Regions from separate parts of the Homo sapiens genome. Here all the other regions are linked to region 1. The links are contacts of gene promoters, found by promoter capture Hi-C in blood cells and fetal thymus (Javierre and others, 2016). All regions are on one chromosome and are shown on one strand. The core of a region is centred on a gene start or on the middle of the fragment in contact, and the rest is flanking DNA. Distances in the headings are between cores, read along the strand shown.

Region 1 (2,700 bases), core at 14-2,513:
GTGGTTGTGCTGCTGGGCCTCCAGGTGGTGGTGGTTGTGACAGCTGGAAGAGATGAGGAATGAGCAGACCCTCTTCTGGGGGTGTGGGGCGTCTGGATGAAAGGCATGGTGTGCTGCTTTCTAGATTGGGGACATTCAGGATGAGCAAGCTGCTCTCAGAAGCCCAGACATGGAAGGGGTAGCAAGGTGAAATGCTAACAGCTCTCAATCCAGACCACTGGGTTTAAATGTGAAGACATCAGTGGTCACCAAAACCCTCACTGCGGTGGGCAAGGCAGGTGTCAGGGCAGCTGGACTCACCCTGGGTGATGGTGAGTTTGGTCCCCTTGATGGACTGCAACTGCTGCCTCCCTGATCTCCGGGTGTCCAGCTCGACTCGGCAGAAATACACAGACTGGTCCTCCTTCCGCAGGTTTGAGATCCTGAGGAAGCCGCTCTCCTGACCCTCTGTCCAGTTCAGAAAGAGCCGGTTCACATAATCCTTGTGAATGGAAGGCGGCCTTGTGCTGTAGAAGGACTGCCCGTGGAAGTGGCCCCGTCTCCAGGATATTCTCACGTTGGGAACTATGGCTAACTCCCAGGGGTAATAGAAGGAGAAGGGGATTTCCACAGAGCCACCCATGGAGGCTGAGAGGTGTTTTGGTTGAGTGACCCCATAAAGGTAGCTTGGACCAGATCCTGTGGAGCCACCTAGAGGAAGGAGGGAGTGAGTGGGGGAGAGACCTTGAAACCACCTCAGGACACAAAGAGGGTGACCCCAGACCCTCCCACACCTTCACCCACAGGCAGTCGTGTGACAGGTGGCTGGACTGACCTCTGGCCTGGGTCTCCCACTCTTCAGGCATGGGGGAGGGTGGAGGGGGAAGAGATGGCGGCACCCACCCCTATGGGACCCGCCCTTGTTTGCTGGAGGTGGGAGCCTGGCCCCTGCCCCAGATGTTCTGCCTTTGTCTTGGGTTGGCCCCTCCTGTGGTTTGGGCAGAGACCATACCTGGGCGGTCCTGGGTACTCACCAGGCTGCAGAAATGCTGGCGGCTGCAGCAGGAGCAGCAGGGGCAGCAGCAGGGGCCGACCCATGGCCTTGTTCTTCTCCAGGGGACGGGGAGACCAGCAGAGCTGTCCAGGCAGGAGAGGGGCCCTGTGGAGGGGCTGCCTGAGGGCTGAGGTGAGTGGGGAGAGCCAGGGTGAGGCTCCCCAGAGGGCTGTGGGGGCCGGGGACCTTCCCCAAACCAGTACACCTCCAGGGTGACCAGCACTTCCTTTATCCATCTGGCTTCTTATTGCAAAAGGGCCTTAGGTGCCTTTTTATCCCTTGCCTAATTGCTCCGGCCAGGACTTCAAATCCTTTTTTTTTTTTTTTTTTTAGTAGAGATGGGGTTTTGCCATGTTGGCCAGGGTGGTCTCACACTCATAGGCTCAAGTAATCTGCCCGCCTCAGCCTCCAAAAGTGCTGGGATTACAGGCGTGAGCCACTGTGCCCGGCCTGACTTCAAATCCTGTGTTGAATAGAAGTAGTGAGAGCGGGCATCCTTCTCTTGTTCCTGATCTTGGAGGCAAAGATTTCAGTCTTTCATCTAAAATGACTGAAAGACTTTCAGCCATGGGCCTTGCATGACTGGCCTTTATTTTGTTGCAGTACATTCCTTCTCTTCCTGGTTTGTGGAGTGTTTTACCAGGAAAGGGTGTTCAGGCTGGGCACAGTGGCTCAAGTCACACAAAAGTGTCAAGTCAGCCCTGCCCAAGGGCCCCAGTGCCCATCTTCCTGCTGAGGGGCTGGGCCTCACCTTGGCTGGCTGGGCCCCTCCCACCTGGATCCCTGCAGACCCCACCGCACTCAGCCTCACTTCTCATCCCTTTCTCTGTCCAAGGCCAGCGCAGGCTCTTTCAGGGAGAGGAAAGGCGGGCCTGAGTCTGTGCTCTGCTGCACCCCAGATTCAGTCCTCAGAGAGGAGAAGGAGGAAGCCAGTGGAGGTCACAGGCGCTCAGCCCCCAGCCCAAGCACCAGAGCCCCCAGCTTGTCCTCTGTCCCTCTCCCTCCCTGGCAGGGGCTCCCATGCAGTCCCCAGGCACCACCACAGCCCAGCTGGCCTCTTCCCACCCCAGGCCTGCTCCCTTGGTGCAGGGACCACAGTCTTGCTCAAGGGGTGAGGGGGCTGACGGTCCCCTACACAGAGACTGGTCCCTCTCGAGGCCACCCCTTGACCCCCAGACATGAGACTGGATCTGCAGGGTCCCCTCTGACCTCCCTGCCCTACACAGGAGGGGACAGAGCTTGGAGAAGCCCTGTCCCAGGCCACATGACTTGCAGGGCAGTCCCAGGACTGGAGCCCCCTCTACCTGGATCTCTGGGCCTCAACTTCTGAGTTGCAGGAACTCAGGCATAGGGGAGCCCCAGGAGGTTGTTCCCTCATACAGCCCCTCAGGTCATTCCCTCCACACACCTGAGCCTATGGCTGAACCAGGAAGGTTCCTTGGTGCCAGGGCAGCTGGACTCACCCTGGGTGATGGTGAGGTGGGTCCCCTTGATGGACTGCCACGACAGCCTCCCTGATCTGTATGTCCAGCTGGACTTGGCAGAAGTACACAGACTGGTCCTCCTTCCGCAGGTTCGAGATCCTGAGGAAGCCTCCCTGAGGAAGTGAAGGCTCAGAGCAACAGTGGGCACCCCGCACAAAGTCCTGGGCCCGTCTCTAACAGGGG
Region 2 (2,707 bases), core at 114-2,613, 170 kb after region 1:
TCTCTAGTGATTTAGAATGGAAGAGATCTTTTGTGAGGGCTAGAGAAACAGCCAAATGATATGGTCAGACATGGTGAGTCCTGCCAACCTCATAGGAGGGGTCTTAGACACTAACAGAGAGTGAGGAGAAAACACCAGTAGTGTTACTCTTATGACAGACCCAGCTGATTAAAGATTTCATCAGCGTAAAAGATTTTGCTATGGCTTATGCCCCCCAGTGGTCATCTTTAAGTTTAAAAGGAAACAAAACAAGTATCTACTATGAGCCAAGCGAGGCAATTTACTCATCTCATTTATTCTTCACAAAAAGGTGAGATTATTCCTTTTTTTAAAGAAAAGAAAACTGAAGAGAGGTTACATAAGGCTATGGAGCTAGTGACTAAATTCAACAGAATTTAAAGCGAGTTCACTGGGAGGCCTGTTTTCTTTCCATTCCTTGAAAATTTGGCCTCCCTTGTCAATGGTTGGCTTTTAGTACTCCTGCACTCACTTGCACACTGCACACTTGACAAGTAGGTCAAAACTTAATTCCCTGCATGACAGGCAGGTACAGCACTTAAACACTCCTAACAATGAGTGCTGACAAAAAAAAAAAAACTGAGCAAAAGTGGAATTAGAGAGAACTCTAAATTACACATTATTTGTTGAGCCCACAACCCAGAAACAAGATGAGCATGTAATGACCCCTTACAGGATGGGTCTATGAAACTATTGCCAGACTCCATTATTCATGATCTTGAAAGACTGCCCAGGGCCTGATAAGGGGGTCTGTGGCAGAAGTGGGTGCAAGTTGGGAAAAAGGGAAGGAAGAAGCAGGGAACACTCCTCACCTCTTTGCGTTTCTCCAACAGGCTCTCCAGCCGCTCAGGTGCCCTCTGCCCTGGCCCCTTGTTTCTTTCAGCCTCATACTGACGCTGATTGTTATCTTGGTGCACACTCAGTTGGAGGGCAACTTTTACCAGGGAGGTCATCAGTTTCATAGCTTTGAGAAAGGAAAAAGAGATAAAGAAATCATTACTGAGGTCAGAGGAGAGAGGATGAGTAGAAGGAAAAAATAGAAGGAAAGAAGGGCAATGAAAATGAGACGTCAGAGCAGGATGACCCTAAAATCCTAAGACGGCCTGTCCTGGAGTGGACTGTTTCCCTCGAACCCTTGTGGTCTTCTTTTAACCATCAGCATACCCCTAGTGGTGAGCTCTGACAAAAATATTAAACCTGGAAATTGTTGCTGTGATCTACCCCTTCTCAAAACTCCACTAGTGAGAAACTGGATTGAAGTTTAGGATAAAAGAGGCATGGCCTTGAAGTGAAGAGCCAAGATGCAGGTAGGAAAGAAGATCCTGAATCAGAGAACAGAGGAAAGTCCTATAAATCCCCAGGAGAATGTCCAGAGTAAAAATGAATGCTCACCAGCCAGGGTGCTAGTGTGACGGAAGGCGCGGACTTGTGAGTCTGAGAGGCCAGTGAGCAGGGAGATGAGGTCGTCCATAGGGAAGCCATCATAGAGGAGGCTGTACTGGCACTGACAGACCAATGTCCTCACAAATTCACAGAAGCTGCCCTGGAACTTCTTCCAGGATGGACCTGGAGCTATGAGAGGGTAGTCCCCCGAGTCCTACAAAAGGATGTATGAAAAGGATGGGAAAGTTATTACCAGGTCCATGAAGTCATAGGGGCTTGGATGTCAAAACTCAACAGTCCAGTAAAAATATCTGTTATACCTCATTTCCTGGTATTCTCCCCAATTTGAGAGGCATATTCAGATCTCTTTTACCCCCAAGAGACTGAATTCCTCCTTCTAAAAGCTACCCTATTTCACAGAATCAAAAAGAAGGGGATAATAGGCATTGTGTTTTGAAATAAGAGGGGTAAGAGGATCCTGGTCATCTTCTTCCACCTCATTAAACTGCTCTGTTAGGTGCTGGATGATCTCTGAGTTGGACATCTTCTTGAACATCTCAGGGGTCACAATGCCTAAAGAATGAAGGATATGAGGTGCTTACAAGGAAAATAACAGGATGCTTTGATCATTTACAGATATACCTGAAGATGAGCAAGGAAACATTCTGCAAAGAGCTTAGGTGGGGAATGAGAAGACCCCCTGGTCAACAGTCTGCCAACATCCAACCATGTATCTGCTATAAGGCAATCTCTCTAAAAACCCAAAGGAAGGGAGCCACAGGTTATGGTGTAGACATGGCCAAATCCAAGAACCACACCTCACACAACCAGGCTGAAAACTGCACAGAAATGGCATCAAGAAACCCCAATCACAAAGATACAAATCTCTTAAGCGGATGGACCCAAATTCCTGAGGAATATGTGCTTTGCCAAGAAGCACAACAAGAACGGCCTAAAGAAGATGCAGGCCAGCCGGGTGCAGTCGGTCATGCCTGTAATCCCAGCACTTTGGGAGGCCAAGGTGGGTGAATCACAAGGTCAGGAATTCGAGACCAGCCTGGCCAACATGGTGAAACCCCGTCTCTACTAAAAATGCAAAAAATGAGCTGGGCATAGTGGCGGGTGCCTGTAATCCCAGCTACTCGGGAGGCTGAGGCAGGAGAATCGCTTGAACCTGGGAGGCGGAGGTTGCAGTAAGCTGAGATCGCACTACTGCACTCCAGCCTGGGCAACAAGTGAGACTGTCTCAAAAAAAAAAAAAAAAAAGATGATGCAGGGCAACAATGCCAGGGCCATAGGGCCATGA
Region 3 (2,761 bases), core at 187-2,686, 240 kb after region 1:
CTGAGACAGGAGAATTGCTTGAATCTGGGAGGCGGAGGTTGCAGTGAGCCAAGATCGCGCCATTGCTCTCCAGCCTGGACAACAAGAGTGAAACTCTAGCTCAAAAAAAAAAAAAAAAAAAAAGAGCCCTGTCTAGATGGTGGACGGAGACGGGGTCTCACTCTGTTGCCAGGCTGGAGTGCAGTGGCACAACCTCTACTCACTGCAACCTCCACCTCCTGGGTTCAAGCAATTCTCCTGCCTCAGCCTCCCGAGTATCTGGGACTACAGGTGCACATCACCACGCCCAGCTAATTTTTGTATTTTTAGTAGAGATGGGGTTTAACCATGTTGGCCAGGATGGTCTCGATCTCTTGACCTCGTGATCTGCCCACCTCGGCCTCCCAAAGTGTTGGGATTACAGGCGTGAGCCACTGCGCCATGCCCAAAAGATGTTAAATGCTATGGAAAAGAAAAAGTGGGCTGCCCCCACTCTGAGGGCAGAGTGCAGAGTTAAATAGGGTGGTCAGGGTAGGCAGCCAATTAGATATTTGGGAAGAACATTCCAGGCAGAGGGAATGCAGCAAAGGCTATTAAGCAAGTACATACCTGGCAAGTTTAAGGAGCAGCCAGAAGGAATGTATGTGTCTGGATCAAAGTGGAAGAAGGAAGGGCGTTCAGAGATATAATGGGGAGAAGGTAATTTTGAAGGGCTTTGTAGGACATTATAAGGATTTCGTCTGTTTTTTTTGTTGTTGTTGTTGTTGTTTTTGAGAAGAAGTCTTGCTTTGTTGCCCAGGCTGGAGTGCAATGACACAGATCTTTGCTCACTGCAACCTCCGCCTCCCGGGTTCGAGTGATTCTTCTGCCTCAGCCTCCCGAGTAGCTGTGATTACAGGTGCCCGCCACCATGCCCATCTAATTTTTTTATTTTTAGTAGAGATAGGGTTTCACCATGTTGGCCAGGCTGGTCTTGAACTCCTGCCCTCAAGTGATCCGCCCACCTTCGTCTCCCAAAGTGCTAGGATTACAGGCGTGAGCCACTGTGCCTGGCCTGAGATGGGGTTTTGCTATGTTGCCCAGGGTGGTCAGGAATTCCTAAGCCCAAGCAGTCTTCCCACCTCACCCTCCCAAAGTGCACAGATTACAGGCATGAGCTGAGCCACTGCACCTGCCCATTATAAGGATTTCAGGTTTTACTTTATGGCAAGTGGAGAGCCATTATGAGGGTTTGAGCAAAGAAATGACAATCTGCTTTACAGTTTGACAGAAGCATTTTGGCTGCAACGTTAGGAATAGATGTAGAGAAAGGCAAGGGTAGACTCCGGTTGACATTGTTAGGAGGTTTTTGGAGTTACCCAGTGGATAGATGATGGTGACCTGGGCCAAGCAGTGGGAGCAGAGGAGTCAGGTTGGACTACCTGGTGGATTGATTGATTTTTGAGACAGAGTCTCGCTCTGTCGCCAGGCTGGAGTCCAGTGGCACGATCTTGGCTCACTGCAACCTCCACTTCCCAGGTTCAAGTGATTCTCTTGCCTCAGCCTCCCGAGTAGCTGGGACTACAGGTGCGTGCCACCACGCCAAGCTAGTTTTTGTATTTTTAGTAGAGATGGGATTTCACCATGTTGGCCAGGATGGTCTCCATCTCTTGACCTGGTGATCCGTCCGCCTCGGCCTCCCAAAGTGCTGGGATTACAGGTGTGAGCCAACGCGCCCGACCGGATTTATTTTTTTACCTTTTTTTTTTTTTTGAGACAGAGTCCATCTGTCACTGAGGCTGGAGTGCAATGGCGCAATCTCAACTCACTGCAAACTCTACTGCCGAGGCTCAAGTGATTCTCCTGCCTCAGCCTCCCAAGTAGCTGGGATTACAGGCACGCGCCACCATGCCCAGCTAATTTTTGTATTTTTAGTAGAGAAAGGGTTTTACCATGTTGCTCAGGCTGGTCTCGAACTCCTGACCTGAAGTGATCCACCCACCTTGGCCTCCCAAATTGCTGGAATTACAGACGTGAGCCACCGCACCTGGCCTACCTGGTGGATTTGATGTGAAGGCTCAGATAAAGAACAAGTGTCTGGATGGATGGCATTGCTATGAAGATAAGGAAAGCTGAGCCTGGGCCAGACACTTCGGCTCACGCCTTTAATTCCAACACTTTGAGAGGCCAACGCTGGAGGATTGCTTGAGCCCAAAACTTCAAAGTGGTGGGATTGAAGCCCTGAGGTGTAACAGAAAAAGATAAAAATCTGGGCTGGGCCTGGTGGCTCAGGCCTGTAATTCCAACACTTTGGGAGGCCGAAGCAGGAGGACTGCGTGAGCCCAGCAGTTCAAGACCAGCCTGGACAACATAGTGAGACTCTGTCTCTGCCCCTGCCCCTGCAAAAAATTGGCTGTGTGTAGTGGTACACACCTATAGTCCCAGCTACTTGGGAGGCTGAGGTGTGAGGATTGCTTGAGCCTAGGAGCTCCTGGGCTCTATCAGTTTTCCCACCTCTGCCTCCTGAGTAGCTAGAACAACAGCCCTGTGCCTGCATACCCAGCTAATTTTTGTATTTTTTGTACAGATGGGGTCTCACTGTGTTGTCCAGGCTGGTCGTGAACTGCTGGGCTCAAGCGATCCTCCTACCTTGGGCTCCCAGAGTGTTGGAATTACAGGCATGAGCCACTAGGCCCAGTCCAGATTTTTTTTTTTTTTTTCCTGAGACGGAGTCACCCTGGCTGGAGTGCAGTGGCGTGATCTCGGCTCACTGCAACCTCTGCCCTCTGGTTTCAAGTGATTC

Evidence for each region. The method cuts DNA at HindIII sites, captures the fragments that hold promoters and counts their contacts. A CHiCAGO score of 5 or more calls a contact.
Region 2: a fragment that was not itself captured here is called in contact with the fragment with the promoter of PILRB in region 1 in 1 of 17 cell types (total B cells); the score reaches 5.1 in total B cells.
Region 3: a contact is called between a fragment that was not itself captured here and the fragment with the promoter of PILRB in region 1, in 2 of 17 cell types (total B cells and total CD8 T cells). The highest score is 7.3, in total B cells.

What each region holds. Positions count from the first base shown.
Region 1 is chr7:100,356,680-100,359,379 of GRCh38, reverse strand. PILRB (paired immunoglobin like type 2 receptor beta) reads right to left here and starts at 1,263. Exons shown (of 4, transcript NM_178238.4): 1 at 1,014-1,263; 2 at 301-690; 3 at 1-43. The coding sequence starts at 1,077. STAG3L5P-PVRIG2P-PILRB (STAG3L5P-PVRIG2P-PILRB readthrough) reads right to left here. Exons shown (of 17, transcript NR_036570.1): 13 at 2,497-2,630; 14 at 1,014-1,160; 15 at 301-481; 16 at 1-43. MIR6840 (microRNA 6840) reads right to left here; the gene lies at 2,659-2,700. The HindIII fragment of the contact is 11,655 bases long and covers 1-2,700 here.
Region 2 is chr7:100,187,720-100,190,426 of GRCh38, reverse strand. It overlaps STAG3 (STAG3 cohesin complex component), which reads right to left. Exons shown (of 34, transcript NM_001282717.2): 6 at 1,898-1,974; 7 at 1,411-1,615; 8 at 831-982. It also overlaps the pseudogene LOC102724025. Among named protein-coding and RNA genes, the nearest start is that of STAG3, 11 kb to the right of the region's middle. RefSeq lists an enhancer at 58-217. The HindIII fragment of the contact is 2,848 bases long and covers 1-2,707 here.
Region 3 is chr7:100,114,630-100,117,390 of GRCh38, reverse strand. All of the region lies in intron 1 of TAF6 (TATA-box binding protein associated factor 6), which reads left to right. Among named protein-coding and RNA genes, the nearest start is that of TAF6, 3.3 kb to the left of the region's middle. The HindIII fragment of the contact is 3,542 bases long and covers 1-2,761 here.